2 separate regions of the Homo sapiens genome follow, and region 2 is linked to region 1. The links are contacts of gene promoters, found by promoter capture Hi-C in blood cells and fetal thymus (Javierre and others, 2016). All regions are on one chromosome and are shown on one strand. Each heading gives the region's core, a stretch centred on a gene start or on the middle of the fragment in contact. The rest is flanking DNA. Distances are from core to core; before and after follow the strand shown. Region 1 overlaps LOC105372462 (a long non-coding RNA gene). Region 2 holds the start of SYT5 (synaptotagmin 5).

Evidence for each region. Contacts are between HindIII fragments. The CHiCAGO score rates a contact against its expected background, and 5 or more counts as called.
Region 2: a contact is called between the fragment with the promoter of SYT5 here and a fragment that was not itself captured in region 1, in 8 of 17 cell types (erythroblasts, M2 macrophages, M0 macrophages and 5 more). The highest score is 7.8, in erythroblasts.

Annotation. Positions count from the first base shown.
Region 1 is chr19:55,421,806-55,425,548 of GRCh38, reverse strand. All of the region lies in intron 2 of LOC105372462 (a long non-coding RNA gene), which reads right to left. Among named protein-coding and RNA genes, the nearest start is that of UBE2S, 16 kb to the right of the region's middle. The HindIII fragment of the contact is 3,688 bases long and covers 597-3,743 here.
Region 2 is chr19:55,177,862-55,181,674 of GRCh38, reverse strand. It overlaps SYT5 (synaptotagmin 5), which reads left to right and starts at 1,386. Exons shown (of 9, transcript NM_003180.3): 1 at 1,386-1,558; 2 at 2,589-2,712; 3 at 3,307-3,479. The coding sequence starts at 2,634. PTPRH (protein tyrosine phosphatase receptor type H) reads left to right here. Exons shown (of 20, transcript NM_002842.5): 20 at 1-428. RefSeq lists silencers at 1,371-1,560, 1,441-1,853 and an enhancer at 1,841-1,920. The HindIII fragment of the contact is 13,685 bases long and covers 1-3,813 here.

The DNA of each region.
Region 1 (3,743 bases), core at 1,191-3,690:
TCAGCCTCCTGAGTAGCTGGAACTACAGGCATGCGCCACCACGCCCAGCTAATTTTTGAATTTTTAGTAGAGACCAGGTTTCATCACGTTCACCAGGCTGGTCTCGAACTCCTGACTTCAGGTAATTCTCCTGCCTTGGCCTCCCGAAGTACTGGGATTATAGGCATCAGCCAGCGCACCTGGCCCCTGCTTTTTTCATCTAATAATAGAAGGACATTATGCCATAAGTATAGTTAACTTATCTGCACCCAACTGTATATATAGAAAGAGAAACAGAAATTTAATAGTGCAAGTAAGCTGTATAAAAGAGAATGAGGATGCCTTGGATGTTGCCCACATCACCCAGTGTGAAATAGTCTCCAAGGTTTATTGTTAAGTAAGAAAGCAAGATATAGAATAGTGTGCATGAATGCTACCATTTGTGTAAAAGGAGCGGGGAACAGAATCTGTATATAAATTTGCTGCACCAAATATTTCCAATTCTCCTCCTGGGCACATGGTAGGATTCTATTTCCCTGCCCCCGAAGTTAGCTGTGCCCGTGCGACTTGCCTTGGCCTATGAAGTGCGGGCAGAAGTATCTTTCCAGGCAGAAGCTTGTGAGAGACAGGGTGTGGTTCTCCCATGCTCTGTCTTTTCCCTCCTCCATGGGCACTGGCATATTTCAGGTCATAGCTGCTCTGCTGGCCTGAGTCCCAGGCAGATCAGCCAGGGCCCCAGAGTAAGGATGATGCCAAATAGGGGCTCCACCAGCCGCAGATGCACATGTAGCACGAATGAGAAATAAACTCTTGTTGCTTTAACAACCAGGGCTTTGGGGCTACTTGTTACTGCAGCCTAGCATAGCCCATTCTGGCTGACAGGGTTGCTTATGGAGAGGGGAACTGGATGGCTGGGGCTTTTTACTTCTAAATGCCCTTTTGCACTTCTGGATTTTTGTATCGGCAAGTGTACTCTCTACTGTTTTGTTTTGTTTTTTAGACAGGGTGTTGCTCTATTGCAGAGGCTGGAGTGCAGTGGTGCAATCTCAGCTCACTGCAGCCTTGATTCCCCAAGTGATCCTCAGCCTCCTGACTAGCTGGGATTACAGGTGCCCACCACCAGGCCCCCAGCTAATTTTTGTATTTTTACTAGAGACGGGGTTTCGCCACATTGGCCAGGCTGGTCTCGAACTCCTGACCTCAGATAATCTGCCCACCTCGGCCTCCCAAAGTGCTGGGATTACAGGCATGAGCCACCATGCCTGGCCCTACTTTTTTTTTTTAATAGAATTTTTAAATTCTGCAGCAGGAGAATCGCTTGAACTCAGGAGGAGGAGGTTGCAGTGAGCCAAGATCGCTGAGATCGCCAAGATCGTGCCACTGCACTCCAGCCTGGCTGGCAGAGTGAGACTCTGCCTAATAAATAAATAAATTAATTAATTAATTAATTAACAGAAAAGAAAGAAAAAAGAATTTAAAAAAATATAAATGTAGAGATGGGAATCTGGCTATGCTGACCAGGCTAGTCTTGAACTCCTGACCTCGAGCGATCCTCCCACCTCAGCCTCCCACAGCGTAGATTTAAATGCAAATGGTGCAGACTTTGCCTGCCATTCCCCTCACTAAGCATATGCCAAGACACGTGAGAGAGATGGGCGACTGGAGTCTCATTCCTCTCCCTCAGAGGGTGATTAGCTTCCCACTCTGAATCGGAACTCCAGTGCTTCAGTGTATGTATTTTCATTCCTCATGGATGCCACATGCCAGCCAACGGATTCATTTGTGTTCAACAAGAGAAGAGCAATCTGCTCCACACCCACTGTGTGCAGGGCGGGCAAGTCAAGGATAAGATCTGACATGAGCATTCTGCCTTCAGTGTTCGCCTTTGTCACCTAACACTCGCTCAACTGGCAACCCGACTGTGCCAATAAATGCAGCCTCTCAGCAGCTATTCTTAACCCGCATTTGAAGGGTGGGCTTGTGAATGTCTCAAATCTATGCCAGATGTTGTGTGCATGCTTTTTCATTTCACTTTTCTTGACTTTATATTTTGAAATAATTTCAAATGTACAGAACAGTTACAAGAATAAGTCAAAGAACTTCTGTGTCATTTTCACCAACTCACCATTTGTTACCATTATATGACATCATTGTATGGTTTTCTTTCCATATAAATATTCATCTCGGCTGGGCACGGTGGCTCATACCTGTAATCCCAACACTTTGAGAGGCCGAGATGGGTGGATTGCTTAAGCTCAGGAGTTTGACATCAGCCTGGGCAACATGGTGAAACCTCATCTCTACCAAAACAACAACAACAACAACAAAACAACAACAACAACAACAAAATATATATATATATATATGCACACAAAAAATTAGCTGGGCATGCTGGCATGCACCTGTAGTTCCAGCTACTCAGGAGGCTGAGGCGGGAGGATCGCTTGAGCCCAGGAGGTAGAGGTTGCAGTCAGCCAAGATCACACCACTGCACTCCAGCCTGGGCCACAAAGCCAGAACCTGTCTCATAAAAAAAAAAAAAAAAAAAATGCCGGACATGGTGGCTCATGTCTGTAATCCCAGCACTTTGGGAGGCTGAGGCAGGTGGATCACCTAAGGTCAGGAGTTTGAGACCAGCCTGGCCAACATAATGAAACCCCGTCTCCACTAAAAATACAAAAAATTAGCTGGGCGTGGTGGCAGGCGCCTGTAATCCCAGCTACTCGGTAGGCTGAGGCAGGAGACTTGCTTGAACCCAGGAGGCAGAGGTTGCAGTGAGCCAAGATCGTGCCATTGCACCACAGCCTGGGCAACAAGAGCAAAACTCCATCAAAAAAAAGAAAGAAAAAAAAAAGCCAGGTGCAGTGGCTCACCCCTGTAATCCCAGCATTTTGGGAGGCCGAGGCGGGCAGATCACGAGGTCAGGAGATCAAGACCATCCCGGTTAACATGGTGAAACCCCGTCTCTACTAAAAATACAAAAATTAGCCAGGCGTGGTGGTGGGTGCCTGTAATCCCAGCTACTCAGGAGGCTGAGGCGGGAGAATCGCTTGAACCTGGGAGGCGGAAGTTGCAGTGAGCCGAGATCGTGCCATTGCACTCCAGCCTGGGTTACAGAGCGAGACACCTTCTAAAAAAAAGAAAAAAATCGTGTTTTTTTTTTTTGGAGATATTTGGGAGTAAGTTGCACCTATCACATCCCTTTACCCCTAGAGGCCATTCTGAAGAACAAGGCCACTCTCTTACACATCCACAGCATAATTATCACACTCAAGAATTTAGCATTGACCAAGTCCATGTTTGAATTGCATCAAGCGTCCTGCTACTGTCTTTCAGAGCAGCTTTCAGTTTGTGACACTCCAGGATTGGGTGTTGCATGCAGCTATTGTGCTTCTTGAGGTGGCTTCTTTTTTTTTTTTTTTTTTTTGAGACAGAGTCTCGCTCTGTTGCCCAGGCTGGAGTGCAGTGGTGCGATCTCAGCTCACTGCAAGCTCCGCCTCCTGGGTTCACGCCATTCTCCTGCCTCAGCCTTCCAAGTAGCTGGGACTACACGTGCCCGCCACCAAGCCTGGCTGATTTTTTTCTATTTTCAGTAGAGACGGGGTTTCCCCATGTTAGCCAGGATGGTCTCGATCTCCTGACCTTGTGATCCGCCCGCCTCGGCCTCCCAAAGTGCTGGGATTACAGGCATGAGCCACTGCGCCCGGCTGAGGTGGCTTCACTCTGAAACAGTTACTCAGTCTTTGTCTTTCTTTTCTATTTTT
Region 2 (3,813 bases), core at 137-2,636, 240 kb after region 1:
GAGGGCTGGGCTCCCAGACTCCTGGGTGCTGTGGGAGGAGGGGGCTGGTATCCCAAACTCTGGTTTCCCCAGGAGAGAGTGGTCTGGTGGGCTTCAGATGAGTCCTATGGGAGCTGGGGATCTGGATTCCTGGTTCCCTGAAGGAGGAGAGGGATGATAGCTTGGATTCCCTAGGTCTTTCCAGGATGCAGAAAGAAACAGGCTGGGGCCTGGATTCTGAGGCAGGAAGGAATTTGGGTCTGGAGTTCTGGCTACTTGAGGACCAAAGGCAGGAAGGATCCTGCCTTGATTTTACTTCAGAAACCAAATCAGTCTTCTATAATCTGGGGTCGGAGGGAGTCCCTGTGCCCAAGGTCTCTCTGCACCCCACCATCCACATGTATTTTTCCTTCTATCCCATAATTTATTAAATCACTGTTCTCCCCAGAGACAGTTGTCCCATGGATTTCTGGGTCTGGAAATAATATTGGATTGGGAGTAGGGATGGGTTCCTGGTATCTAGGGATCGAGGCGAACGTCCAGGAGGGGACTAGAGGGACCCACACATTTGCACATGAAAAAATGTAGGTTTGGGTGGTTGAGTCTCTCAGAGAAGGCAGTGTCCAGACGTCTGTGTCCAGGGTCTGGGCAGTATGGACAGGGCTCGCTGGAGCTAGGTGCTTGGGGACTTGCCTTCTGAGCTTTTCTTTTACTCTTCTCTGTTGTTGTTGTTGTTGTTTTGTTCTGTTTTTGTTTTTGTTTTTGAGACATGGTCTTGCTCTGTTGCCCAGACTGGAGTGCAGTGGCTCACTGCAGCCTTGACCTCCTGGGCCCAGGTGATCTTCCCACCTCAGCCTCTAGAGTAGCTGCCATCACAAGTGCGCACCACCACGCTGGCTCATTTTTGTAGAGACGGGATTTTGCTATGTTGCCCAGGCTGGTCTCCAGCTCCTGGGCTCAAGCATTCCTCCTGCTTCGGCCTCCCAAAGTGCTGAGGTTACAGGTATGAGCCACCGCACTGGCCGCCTCCTGGGACTGGTGTTAGGGGAACTTAGAGGGCGATGTCTGGGGGCTGATAGCTGGGGACTTTGATGCTGAACCCTGCAGAGTCTGGGTCTCCAATGGGGGTCTGGGGTCTCCTAGGTCCTAGGACTGAGTATCCTGGCATGCCGTTCTTTGGGCTATACAGGGTGTGTGTCGTGTGTGTTGGGGCGGGAGGAGTGGAGTGGTCTGGACGGCCAACGACTGGACCAGAAGGCAGAAAATGCTAAAGCACCAGGATAAACATCTGTGGGCGTCATCGAGGTTCCCGGGTGGAGGCGGGAGGAGGGGCGGGGCAGGGCTTTCCGCCTACCCGAGACCAAATACGGGCACACACAATACACACCACACACGCGCGCACACGCACACGGGCACACACGCGCGCACGGGATCCTGCTCCGCTCCGCGGCTCCCCCGCCCCGGAGAGCTCCGCGATCAGCACCCGGGACAGCGCCACCGCCCACGTGCAGGGGGTGGGGTCCGGGCGGGGCTGGCGCCTCGGCGTCTCCCGGGAGTGTCCCGTCCAGCCGCCGAGCAGGTAGGAGCTGCTGGGACCCCCGCCCTCAGCCCATCCGCATCCGCATCCCTAGAGGAAAGGGGTGTGCGAGTGGGGGCTGGGGCACTGGGGAGACAACCAGAGGGAGGGCAGCAGCCTGAAGCGGAGAGACAGGGATCTGGGGACGCGAGACAGGTATGGAGAAGACAAAGAGCCGAGGGCGGGGAGTGGGGCGCAGGCGGAGGGGAGAGGGAGAGACCCTGGAGACAGAGGCCAGGCGATAGGGAAGAGAGACAGGCGGGTTGGGGAGGCAGACACAGGGAAGACGCCTATGTGGGGTCAAGAGGCAGCGTGGAGACCGAGGCGGTCACGAGAGCAGCACGGATGCGTGGAGAGACCAACAGGCCAAGAAGGATGAGGGGGCTCAGCACAGGCACCGGGCAGCCCCCGACCCGCCCTCCAGCAAAATTGGGGAGAGGGAAGAGGGAACCTGCGTCTCAGCTCCCAGGACCAGGTGCGGAGGGAGCAGTCGGCTGTGGGCGCTCGGACCACAGGCTGCCCGCTCCCCACCTCGCGGGACCTCAGGATCCCAGTCGGGCTATTGGGGGGTTCCCAGGCACCGGTGGGCCCCGGAGCGAGCCTGCCCCGCCGGGACTCCGCGTCTGTGCGTCAGCCCCGCCCGTTGTCCTGGCAACAACCCGTTGCCCGGGCAACCAGCTTTGCTCTCACCCCGCTTGAGAGGAGCCCGGCTGTTGCTCTGGGCAACGCGGTCTGCTGGTTCCCACGTCTGCCTTCGCCCGCTTCCGGTTCAGACCCTGCGGAGGGGCGAGGACGAGGCAGAAGTCAGCGGGATGCCTGTGGGGCCGTGGAGGAAGAGGGTATCCCTTTAGGATGGAACTAGGTCCTGGACACCCCCTCTCAAGTGCGGGGAGGCTGATACTACAACTCCCAGCATGACTCGCGGTGGCTGTCCGGTTTCTGCGCGGCTGTTCGCGCAAAGGCCTCATGGGAGTTGGAGTTCTTTGTTGTGCGTGGGGCTCAAAGGACGTCTGGGGTGGGAATGGGGGACTAGGGTGCTTGAGTGTCTCTGCAGAAAAGACTCCAGGACCCCGCCACCATGTTCCCGGAGCCCCCAACCCCGGGGCCTCCATCGCCCGACACGCCTCCCGACTCCAGTCGCATCAGCCACGGCCCAGGTGAGCAAGACCCGGGGGTGGGGGGCCGAGCAGAGAGAAAGCCTGGCCAGGATTCCGAGGGGCGGGATTCGGACGGGTGTACTCGGGCAGGCGGGCTGGAAAATCCGGCTGGGATCCCGGGTCGTCATCCTGGACTGGAATGCGAACGAAATGGGGTAAAAGGAAGGAACAGATTTGCAAAAAAAAAAAAAAAAAAAAAAAAAAAAAAATCGAAACCGGATCAAGGGGTGTTGCATGGAATGGGATCTTAGAATTGGAAGGTCCACCTAGCTCTTCTTTTACAGATAAGGAAACAGGCCCGATGAGGAGCAGGGCTTCTTGTAAAAGCATCAGGAGTTGAGCAGAAATGGGGGGCGGGGTCGGGTAAGGAAAGGCAGAACTAACAAGCAAGCAAATCCAGATGGTGTCAGCCTGGGTTGGGGCATCGAATCTCTCTATAGGCCACATTAGGTGGAAGAAAAACACAGGAAGAAATGCAATGAAAATGGCTGGAGGGAAAAGGAGGCCAGCATTCCAGCTTCCACGTGTAATCAGGACTGAATCAGCCTGCGTGCTGCCCAGGCCTCAATGTGTGTTGTCTCCACCCCTCTGCAGTGCCCCCCTGGGCCCTGGCCACCATCGTGCTGGTCTCAGGCCTCCTCATCTTCAGCTGCTGTTTCTGTCTCTACCGGAAGAGCTGTCGGAGGCGGACAGGCAAGAAGAGCCAGGCCCAAGCCCAGGTCCACCTTCAGGAAGTGAAGGGGCTGGGCCAGAGTTACATAGACAAGGTGTGGCCCAGCCCAGCCCCTCCACCTGGCCCCTTCCCGCACCCTGCTCCTCTCAATGGCCCAGCTGGTCCCAGTCCCTGCTCCCTTCTGTCCTATAGGAACCCACCTTACTGGCTCATCCTCCCTGTGTGTCTAGCCCTCAACTGGACTCTGGGGACCCAGAGATGGAACAGAACTAGTTGCTATTCCCAAGAACTTCCCAGTCTGGTGGGAGAGTCAGGCACTGACACAGACACTCACCACACAGGGTAATATGTGCCATACTACAGGGTCTCATAGGAGCACAGAAAAGGCATCCCACTGTATAGAAACCTACAGAAACATATAAATATTT